Linked DNA regions of Homo sapiens: regions 2, 3 and 4 are each linked to region 1. The links are contacts of gene promoters, found by promoter capture Hi-C in blood cells and fetal thymus (Javierre and others, 2016). All regions are on one chromosome and are shown on one strand. The core of a region is centred on a gene start or on the middle of the fragment in contact, and the rest is flanking DNA. Distances in the headings are between cores, read along the strand shown.

Region 1 (2,700 bases), core at 66-2,565:
TGAGTTTTATTTTACTCACAATTTCAAAGACCAAAAAGTTTGAGAGTATACTGTGTGAGAGACAATGTGGAACCAAGTTCTTTCACTCATTTCTGGTGGGAGTAGAGATTGATACAGCCCTCATGGAAGGCAATTTGCAACATATAAAAATTTATAAAATCTAGGGCCAGGGACGTTGGCTCATGCCTGTAATCCTAGCACTTTGGGAAGCCGAGGTGGGCAGATCATTTGAGGTAAGTGGGTCGAGACTAGCCTGGCCAACATGGCGAAATCCCGTCTCTCTTAAAAATAGAAAAATTAGCCTGATGTGGTGGCATGTGCCTATAATCCCAGCTACTCAAGAGGCCGAGGCAGGGGAATCTCTTGAACCCCGGAGGTGGAGGTTGCAGTGAGCTGAGATCATGCCACTGCACTCCAGCCTGGGGGACAGAGTGAGACTCTGTCTCAAACAAACAAACAAAAAATTTATAAAATCTGATACTTTTTCACCATGGAGTTTCTTCTGTAGGAATTTATCCTAGAGATATATTTGTACATGTGCAAGAGACATATGTACAAGGTTAATAAATGCACCATTATTTGTAATATCAAAAGGTTAATAACTGTCAAAACAGCCATTAATATTGTATAAATTATGGTCCATCCATGCAATGGAATACTGTGTAGCTGTAAAAAAAAAAAAAAAAAAAGCAACAAGCCCGACATGGAAAGACTTCCAATAAATAGTAAGTTTAAAAGAAAGTGCAGAATAATACATATTTATATGAAAAAAGAGTTTTTATGCCTCAAAGGCCTTCACCCTTGATCTTCTGGTGTTATTCCTGTCCTTGTATTCTCCCAGAATCATTACCTCATCCCATGAATGGTACAGTCAAGTCTTGCTTGTTCTGTGTCCTTACATTCTTTAGAGAGAAGTCACAAGAGACAAGCAAACATCTCTTTTGCTAATAATATTGATCACTTCCTACAGCATAATATCTATGTGCAATTTTTTGGGAAGACCTCCTACTAAACAGTTAAGAATGGAAAGACACAAAGAGAAGAAAGTGGAGAAAGACCTCTGTCTTCCCACACTGGATTTTGCAAATACAACTCTTCTGTGATACAGGAAACTAAAAAGAGGGAAAAGTGGCAATTAAGAAAAACTGCCAGAAAATAAATACCTTGATGACCCAATTTGGAAAACTACTTCTAGATAAGGAAACACTATTACCCAATATGTTAATTTTTAAAATACCCAAAGAATTGAGCAAAAAGGACTTTGGCAAGGCAGGTTGTTGGATTTAAAACCGTTCTCCCATTAATGCCAAAGCCAGCAGAGGTACCAACTATAGCTCCACGGCCAGAAGATACCAGCAGCTCTGCCTTTACTGAAATTTCATCTGGAGAAAGGTCCACAGGTGAGGTTTCTTCCAAGGAGTAATTTCTCTTATTTGACTCTTTTGAGATCCTTTTCTCACATAATTGTCAAATTTCAATTGGAGAGAAACTGTGTTTTCTACCTCATTACGGGGTCAGTGCTGAGGAGAGTAGGAACTCAGGAAATGCTTCTTGATTGACTTTAGTCTGCTGTATTGGGTGACAAATTGACCACAGACCAAATAACACGTTGGAATCCTCTTATTCTTTCTAGAGATCTGGGCTGAGAATTAAGGGTTTATGCTTCTTCTTAAAACCCGTTTCAATCTTTCATGCAGTTATGATTCTCATACAAACAAATGGAAATGGGGAATTAGTCTTTCAAATTCAGTCCTTTGGCTGGCACAGTGGCTCATGCCTGTAATCCTTTGGGAGGTTGAGGTAGGAAGATTGCTTGAGGCCAGGAGTTCGAGACTAGCCTGGGCCGAACATACATACCAAGACCTTGTCTCTACCAAAAAAAAAAAAAAAAAAATTAGCTGAGTGTGATGGTGCACGTTTGTAGTCCTTAATACTCAGGAGGCTGAGGTGGGAGGATCACTTGAGCCCAGAAGGTCGAGGCTGCAGTAAGCCTTAATCATATCATTGCACTTTAGCCTGGGCAATAGGAAAAAAAAAAGAAAGAAAGAAAGGGAGGAAAGAAAGAAAGGAAGGAGAAAGAAAGAAAAGGAAAAAAAGAAAGAAAAAAAGGAAAGAAATTCAGTCCTCAAAACATAGATCTGTGTTTTTTTTTATGATCCTCTGCCCCTGTCTTTCTTTCTCTTCAGCACAATGAGGCTTTTCACAGGCATTGTTTTCTGCTCCTTGGTCATGGGAGTCACCAGTGAAAGCTGGCGTTCGTTTTTCAAGGAGGCTCTCCAAGGTAAGAACTCTGGAGGATGGAGGGCACATACCCAGGATTCATTCTGAGCAGGGGCCACATACTCACTGGATGTGAGTGCTCCTTAGAGAAGCCACACAGAGGTCAGAGCAGGAGTGTGGTTTTCTGTATCTGTTTCTTCCTCTAGGCTGGTCTGATTTATCACCCTCCCTTGGGGTTTCCAGACGAGAGGTTAAAGATGCTTTGGGCCCAGCCTGTACTCTTGGTGTAGAGTGCAGAAGGATAAAAACTTCCAGGGGGTTATCTCCCACTGCGGAAATTTACAGATGGCAGATTTCTCAGGGCATGATGTTTATTTAGCTCATCCACCTCAGGGAATATACTGAGTTCACAATTATACTCCAAGACTGAGACATGCCTAGCAGAGAGTAGAGAAATCCCATCCTGTACCCAAGCAAATG
Region 2 (2,711 bases), core at 144-2,643, 570 kb before region 1:
ACTTGAACCTGGGAGGCAAAGGTTGCAGGGAGGCAAAGGTTGCAGTGAGCCAAGATTGCGCCACTGCACTCCAGCCTGGGCGACAGAGTGAGACTCCATCTCAAAAAAAATAAATTAATTAATTAAAAAAAAAGAACAAGGCTGGAGGCATCACACTTTCTGATTTCGAAACATGTAAAGCAATGCAATCAAAACAGCATTGTACTGGCATACAACAGACACACTGACCAGTAGGACAGGCTAGAAAACCCAGAAATAACCCTTGCATTTACAGTCAACTGATTTTTGACAAGCATGCCAAGAATACACAATGGGGAAAGAACATCTCTTCAATAAATGGTATTAGAAAAACTGCACATCCACACACAGAAGAAAGAAATTAGACCTTTATCTTACACCATACACAAAAATCAACTCAAAATGGGCAAAAGACTTAACTATAAAGCTGAAACTGAAAAGCTACTAGAAGAAAACGTAGGGGGAAAGCTTCATGACAATTTTCTGGGCAAGGATTTCTTGGATAGGATCCCAAGAGCACAAGAAACAAAAAGAAAAATAGGCAAATGAGATGGCATCAAAGTAAAAAACTTCTGCATAGCAAAGGAAACAATTAACAAAAGGAAGAGACAACCCATAGAATGGGAGAAATATTTGCAAACCATACATCTGATAAGGGGTTAATTTATAAAATATGTAAGGAACTCAATTCAAGAGCAAGAAAAAAAATAAATAACCCAATTTTTAAATGGGCAAAGCGCCTGAACAGATATTTCTCAAAAAAAAAAAAAAAAAAAGACATGTGAGTGACCAATAGGTACATGAAAAAAGGTCAGTATCACTAATCATTAGGCAAATGCAAATTAAAGCCACAATGAACTATCCCCCATACCTGTTAGAATGGCTTTTATCAAAGAGATAAGATATCAAGTGTTAGAGAGGATTCAGAGAAAAATGGAACTCTTATATACTGTTGATGGGAATGTAAATTAGTACAGCTGTTATGAAAAACAGTATGGAGTTTTCTCCAAGTATTACAAATAGAAATACTATAGGACTCGGTAATCTCCTTTCTGGGTATATATTAATAAGAAGCTGAAATTACACTTTGGGAGGCTGAGGTGGCCAGATCACCTGAGGTCAGGTGCTCGAGACCAGCCTGGCCAATACGGCGAAACCCTGTCTCTACTAAATATACAAAAAAATTAGCCTGGTGTGGTGGTGGGTGCCTGTAAGCCCAGCTACTCGGGAGGCTGAGGGAAAAGAATCACTTGAACCCAGGAGTCAGAGGTTGCAGTGAGCTGAGATTGCTCCACTGCACTCCAAGCTGGGTGACAGAGCAGGACTCCGTCTCAAAAAAAGAAACTGAAATCAGTATGTTGAAGGGGTATCTCCACTCTCACATTCATTGTAGCATTATTCACAATGGCTAAGGTAGGAGAACGATCTAAGTTTCCATCAACAGATAAAGAGAAATATGGTGTACATATTCAATGGACTACTATTCAGCCTTTAAAATGGGGGAAATATTGTCATTTGCAACAACATGGATTAATCTGGAAGACATTGTGGTAAGTGAAAAAGCCAGGCACAGAAAGACAAATACCTCACGATTTCCTTATAAGTGAAATGTAAATATGTGAATTCATAGAAGTAGACAGTAGAATAATGGTTACCAGATGCTGAGGAAGAGGGGAGGGAGGAAATGAACAGTTGCTGATGAAAGAGTACCAAGACCCAGATTACATAAGAGGAAAGGATTTTGAGATCTATTGCACAGAAGGCTGACTATAATCAATAACAATGTATTATATAATATATTTCATAATAAGTACATTTCAAATGTCTCACCTTAAAAAATGATAGGCAAGAAAGGTGATTGATATGTTAATTAGCTTAATTTATTAATGCCACATTGTATACCTATATTAAAACTTCACATTTTACATCATAAATGTATACAATTATGGTTTGTCAATCTAACATAGTATTAATAATTTAAATTTTTTAATGTCAGGTCTATCTAATTCTGAAGCCCATGTTTTTTCCACCATACCATCATTTCTGTATTTAATAAAATGTTTGTTTCATTTTCAAATCATTAAATCATAGAATGTGTTCCTGATTCTTCCCCTTCCCTGTCCTCCTTTCCCCATTCCCTTACAGGCTTCCCCTGAGAGCACTCCTTAGTAAATCACATGCACATGAATCCCCACCTCAGATTCTGCTTCTGGAGAACGTGGCCTGAAATTACAAAAGTGATCTCAATTTCAACATGGGCACAAAGTTTAAGTGAAGCTTAAATTGAAGTAATGATCATTTGAAAGTTATGTTCTGGACCAGGGATTCCCAATCCTCCCTGTGACTGAAATCACATGGTACAGTTTTTAAAATGCCATTTCCCAGGTCCTGTCCTAGATCTCCTTAACCAAAATTCCAGAAGTCTGACTTAGGAGTCTCCTCTTTTATTTAAGTTATAATATTTCTGATGATGGAAGTTTTGGAACCCATTGGTTTAGACAACTCAGTTGTATTGGATGGTTTAGACATACCCGTATATGAACTTGTGGGTGGGATATGCAAAATGAAATTTTGAGGTTCCTGCCAATATTACAAGTCTATGGTTCAGTTAACAATTTATCACAAATCAATATCTCTTAATTGAAAAAGTGATCTTGATTTTAAACCAGGCATAGCATGATCATTTATTACAA
Region 3 (2,700 bases), core at 45-2,544, 520 kb before region 1:
CATGCTCCCCGATGCACATGCATGTTCCCACGCACAGTCACCCGGGCACGTGGCCTGCCTCTGTCTCACACAGCCCTGCAGGGGCGGACGCACACCTCCAGGCTCACACACCTGCATGCCTTCCTCTTGCACACTCACCTCTCTCAGCTCCATCCCTCCATCCCGCGGCTTCCACTCTGCATGCTTCCTGGTGATGTGCTTGCTCTCTCATTCCCTCCTTAGGTGTCTTTCTCTTTCTCCCACTACTGTACCCCTTCTTCACGCACACTCTTGAAAATGACTAGGCAGACTCCTTTTCTCCCTCTCCATTCTCTGTCCTCTTCTCAGGCTCTCAGTCATGCCCAGCTCCCCGGTACTGTGGGGGCAGTGAGTGTCTACCCCACTGCCTTCCCCACCCCTGTGCACATGTGCACACATGTATTTTTCTTCTCCCTCATGCACACACCCTTTTTCATGTGGTCACCCTCCTCTTCTCTTTCACTCTTCCTTTCTTGCTCACTTCATTTGCTCACAGTCACCCAAACACTTTGGTACATTCAAACTCACAATCTCTCTTCTTCTATGTGTAGGTGTTCACATTTGCAAGACACCAGGTGGCACTGCTAATGTTGGGGACTCCACTCCTTCCCCCATCCAGCACCAGTACAGGCCTAGCCCAGCATAGTCCTAGCTCCCAGCAGCTGCCGCGGAGGTACAAGGTAGAAGAAGGAGGTAGATAAAGCAGCAGTAGGTGCCAGTGGGGGCCAGCACATGGAATAGAGCAACATCACCAGGTGTTGCTCTCAGCAGCATCATCATGCAGACTCGTGGGCAGGCCTGCAGGGACCAAGGTCAGACTGCCAATAAAGACCCTCGCAGTATACCACCCCTGCTCAGTCCTGCACTGCAAGGGCCATTGCTTGCGTGCATGCATGTGGGCAGGCCAGTCTGTATGTTCAAGCTTGGTCCACACTCCACCCTAATAGCTACTCCTTGGCCACCCCTCAAACCTGAAGATGCGTAAGCAGGAGACAGTGTCTACCCTCACAGGGATGTACCTGAGCAAGAGACCCATGCAGGCTTCAAGCCATTTGGGCAGGAAATCCTGAAGTCCTAGTAGTTAGAGTGTATCCTGGAAAGGGGAACATGGACACCAGCTGCTAACAGACTCTAGTTGAGTATATCTCCTGAGCCCTATGGACTTCTCTGCTCATGGGGAGTGCCATGGACAGAAGAGACGGGGCACAGGGCCCAGGTCTAAGGACAACGCTGCTCTTGGGAACAAAGTACTCCTGGAGCCTTCCTGCGGGCAGCTGGCTGGAGCCATGACAATCCCTACCAACCTGAGATTTCAGTGTGTCATGATTAGCTGGCTTTATGCAAGGTCATGAGTATGCTGAAGGCCTGAGTAGGCCATTGCACTTTTGGTAGGAACAACTGGCCTCTTGGGCTGGTGATTCTGAGACCTACTCTTCACCTTAGATCCTGATGTCTTGCAACCTGTCCCCAACCCAGCCCTAGGCACTCTGCTCTGTATCATTGTGGGTATTAAGTGGACCCTTCCTTCGGGCCAAGGACAAGGTCTAGGTCTCAGCAAGAGGCCACTGCCCATCCCGAGTGCCACTTTTTAAAGTAAAGGAGCTGGAGGCCTGAATCAAGGAAAGCTTTGTCACCCTAATCCTGCAGCGCCTATCTCTGACCAGCAGGAAAGAACAAGTCATAGCTTTCATAGCCTTCCTACCATGCCACAGATGAGGTCTTGGACCAGTAGCCAACAAGGGCAGTTGAAAAGGCAGCCTGATTCTTTTATCCACTCAATTTTATTGAGCACCTACTCCATGCTCCATGCTTGCCAGGCACTGGTGATACAGTGACAAGCAAGACAGACATGGTCCCTGCTCCTAAAGAGTTTAGGGTGCCATGGAAGGGTACAGCCATTTTGCAACCCTATCTTGGTGGGTCAGGGAAGGCTTCCTCTAAGAAGTGACCTAGAACATGAATAGGGTCTCGATTCATGTCTTCAGGAACCTGCTGTGTCAAGCATTTTAAGGAGCAGGTTTACCTCATAATGGGCCTCATCCCTGATCTGCTAGCCCCTGTTTTCACAAAGCTCCCCAGAGTGGTGCTTATATTGGTTTAAGCTGGTCTGTGGGCAGGTGCAGAAGCCCAAATGGACAAACCTCCAGAAGATGGACCTGGTTGTAGTAGTACTGCTGAGATGTCACCGGTAGCTGTCAACACTCAGTGGTAGAGGTTCTGTTGATTTTTATTTCTTTGTTGAATTGATGGTTCTGTTTTCATTCAAGACTTCAAATACATTTAGAGATATTTATTGTCATTGATGGTACGATGAGTTTTTTACTTGAGTCTTCAGAATGGATAATTAAAGTATAAACGAAACACCATTTGGATGTGCTAAGAACACTAACTGGGCAGTATTCTGTAACGATGCCATTGTGTTGAGAAAAGAAGTACCATCCCAGGTGCCCACTGGTCAGCAATAGTAGAGGCTAACTATTCTCAGACACCAGGATGGAGCCCATCTAGCTAGGCCTTGGGGTGCTATGGCCAGGCAGCTGGGTTCAAATCCCAGCTCTGCTATTGACCAACAGCATGACCTGTGGTAAATTATCTAACTGCTGTGAGTTCCAAATTCCTCACTCTAGAATAAGGGTAGTAATATGATGACATCTTCACAGAGATTTTGTGAGGATTAATTGA
Region 4 (2,700 bases), core at 62-2,561, 550 kb before region 1:
AAGGGTCGTCTCTGTGGTATCATATATCAGAATCTCATTTATTTTCAAAGCTGAATATATTCCATTGTATGGATATACCACATTGTTTGGCCATTCATCTGTTTCCACCTTTTGGCTATTGTGAATAATACGGCTATGAACATTGGTGTGCCAGGATCTGTTTGAGCCCCCGCTTTCAATTCTTTGGGGTATATACCTCGCAGTGGAATTGCTGGATCGTATGATCATTCTGTGTTTCACTTTTTGAGAGGTGCAGGGTGCATTTTTTAAAAAGGATTTTTGTGTGCCCAGTATGAAGACCACTGAGTGAAGTCTTAGGAATAGAGAGTCCAGGAAGAAGCTGTTAATTTAAAAACTAAATGTTGTTTGGGTTCTGCATGGCCATGGAGGTAACAGAGAAGAGAGAAGAGGGAACAGAATACAAATGAGTCTGACTCCGTTTCTGAAGAATTGTTGTGATTTAGAGGCATTGTGGGTGGAAAAAGAAAGCTCTCAGGAGAGATCTTAGTGGGTGGAATTGATTCAAGCATGCAAGTATTTACTGTACCAGGCACTGTGGTGGACACAAGGCCCTCAGCAATCAACACGACCACAAGGACCCTGCCCGCAAGGAGCTTAATGTCTAGTGGAGGTGCCAGAGGAGTCACCTGGCAACAGTGGTCTGTACTGATGCATTCTAGGCTCATCATAAGCACTCACTCTTACTGAGTGCTTACTACATTATCTCAATCTTGGTGACAGTTCAGTGAAGACGGTTTCTGTTATCCTCAATTTGCAGGTGAGGAAACAGAGAGCTTGAGTAACTCTATTTCAGGTACGCACAGCAAGAGTCAGAGCCAGAATTTAAACCTAGGCAGTAACTGTGCTCTGTAGGGCTGTGGGAACACAGGAGAGACACCTGCCCAGGACGGAGGTCAGAGAAGGCTTTCCGAAGGCAGGGGTCAGGTGAGTATTTTCACGCAAGTCAGCTGTGTTCTTCTTTAGCCCATGATGTAAAACAGTGCTTTCCTATAGTAGCAGCAGTAGCGTTCAGCCCTGCTTCCAGGGACTCTAGACACTCAGGGAGACCCCTTCACTGAGACTCCACTTCAGAGGAAGATGATCACTTCTATCATCCTTGCTGCTTATCATGAGGCAGGGAGGCTGGGGGTGAGGCATTGCCATTTCCCACTGCCATCTGCTGCCTCTGCTACTTCCCTAGCTGGTCAGCATCTGAGGTACCTCAGAGGGACCTCCTGGGGCCCCTTCGGGGCAGCATCAGGCCAGTGGGCTAAGAGTTAGGCAAATACGAGGCCTAGGAGTGGCAGTGAAAATCATATATCCACCTTCTGTGCCACATCACTGTCCCAAGATACTCCCACCACCACAGAGCCCTGTCTTACCAAAGTACAGATGTGGCCAAGTCTCTGGTGTTTCCATCCTTCTGTGGCTCCCCATAGCTTGCAGCCGTATTTCTCAACAGGGACCTACTGGCCTTTGGGTGGGAGAGTTCTTTGATGTAAAAGCATCCCTGGCCCCATCTCCTATATATTTGCCTGGAGCACCCTTCAGTCATTATAACAACCAAAAATGCTCACACATGTTCTTCAGGTTTACTTTACAAGCAGTCCAATGTATAGATCTTAAGTGTTCTGTTCAGTGCATTTTGACAACTGCATGAGCTCATATAACCATCACCAAGAGCAAGACTCAGAAGATTTCCATCACCCGCAAAAGTTCAGAGATAACGATTATTCCAATTTCTATCATTGTAGATGGATTTTGTCTGTTCCTAATCGTCATATAAGTGGAATCATATAGTACATGCTCTTTTGTGTCATGAAATAGTTTTTAAGAAGCCAGACGCAGTGGCTCATACCTGTAACCCCAGCACTTTGGAAGGCCAAGACGGGTGGATCATCTGAGGTCAGGAGTTCGAGACCAGCCTAGCCAACATGGTGAAATCCCATCTCTACTAAAAATACAAAAATTAGCTGGGCATGGTGGTACACACCTGTAGTCCCAGCTACTCGGGAGGCTGAGGCAGGAGAATCCCTGGAACCTGGGAGGTGGAGGTTGCAGTGAGCCAAGATCATGCCACTGCACTCAAGCCTGGGTGACAGAACGAGACTCCATCTCCAAAAAAAAAAAAAGACATAGTTTTTGAGATCCATCCACGTTGTCACGTTTTCCCCACTAACCCCCAATACACACACAGATTTCTAAATGCCAACTAGCATGGCAATACCTGCCTCTGTCCCCCTGAGAAAAAATGGCCTGTGAGTCAAAGTTAGTGTGTCTTAGGCTGATTCATGAAGCCGTCTGCTGTGTGACAAGAGTCCCTCTTACGTCTACTCTGTGGCTACACTGAGCTGCCTCGTCTGCCTGGCATACCTTGTGCTTTCACCTCTCCGGGCCTTTGCCCTGCAGTGTTCCCTGCCTGGAATGTCCTCCCTGTATCTGGTGAACTCCTGCTTGTCCTTCGGGTCTCTTCTGTGCAGCTTCCCAGACTCTGTTTTTGTGCCCTCCTGAGTGCTCCCATAAGACAGCCTCAGTGGGCCTTTAATGCATTTCTCACTCAACTCACTAGGCCGAATGCTGGGTGGAGGGCAGGGACTGGCTCTTAGTTATCTGTGTGTCCCCCAAGGCTCAGTACAGAGCCTGATATTAAAGAAATTGATATAAGATTATAGTAAGATTATCTTAGAGACAAACTGGGTT

Evidence for each region. The method cuts DNA at HindIII sites, captures the fragments that hold promoters and counts their contacts. A CHiCAGO score of 5 or more calls a contact.
Region 2: a contact is called between a fragment that was not itself captured here and the fragment with the promoter of SAA4 in region 1, in 2 of 17 cell types (activated CD4 T cells and total CD4 T cells). The highest score is 6.9, in activated CD4 T cells.
Region 3: a fragment that was not itself captured here is called in contact with the fragment with the promoter of SAA4 in region 1 in 7 of 17 cell types (naive CD4 T cells, total CD4 T cells, non-activated CD4 T cells and 4 more); the score reaches 11.9 in naive CD4 T cells.
Region 4: a contact is called between a fragment that was not itself captured here and the fragment with the promoter of SAA4 in region 1, in 1 of 17 cell types (total CD4 T cells). The highest score is 5.7, in total CD4 T cells.

The regions. Positions count from the first base shown.
Region 1 is chr11:18,235,417-18,238,116 of GRCh38, reverse strand. SAA4 (serum amyloid A4, constitutive) reads left to right here and starts at 1,315. Exons shown (of 4, transcript NM_006512.4): 1 at 1,315-1,400; 2 at 2,187-2,281. The coding sequence starts at 2,191. It overlaps SAA2-SAA4 (SAA2-SAA4 readthrough), which reads left to right. Exons shown (of 6, transcript NM_001199744.2): 4 at 2,187-2,281. The HindIII fragment of the contact is 10,895 bases long and covers 1-2,700 here.
Region 2 is chr11:18,805,098-18,807,808 of GRCh38, reverse strand. No RefSeq gene overlaps it. Among named protein-coding and RNA genes, the nearest start is that of PTPN5, 15 kb to the right of the region's middle. The HindIII fragment of the contact is 1,809 bases long and covers 489-2,297 here.
Region 3 is chr11:18,759,285-18,761,984 of GRCh38, reverse strand. All of the region lies in intron 3 of PTPN5 (protein tyrosine phosphatase non-receptor type 5), which reads left to right. Among named protein-coding and RNA genes, the nearest start is that of PTPN5, 31 kb to the left of the region's middle. RefSeq lists an enhancer at 1-476. The HindIII fragment of the contact is 703 bases long and covers 943-1,645 here.
Region 4 is chr11:18,781,664-18,784,363 of GRCh38, reverse strand. All of the region lies in intron 1 of PTPN5 (protein tyrosine phosphatase non-receptor type 5), which reads left to right. Among named protein-coding and RNA genes, the nearest start is that of PTPN5, 8.8 kb to the left of the region's middle. The HindIII fragment of the contact is 6,043 bases long and covers 1-2,700 here.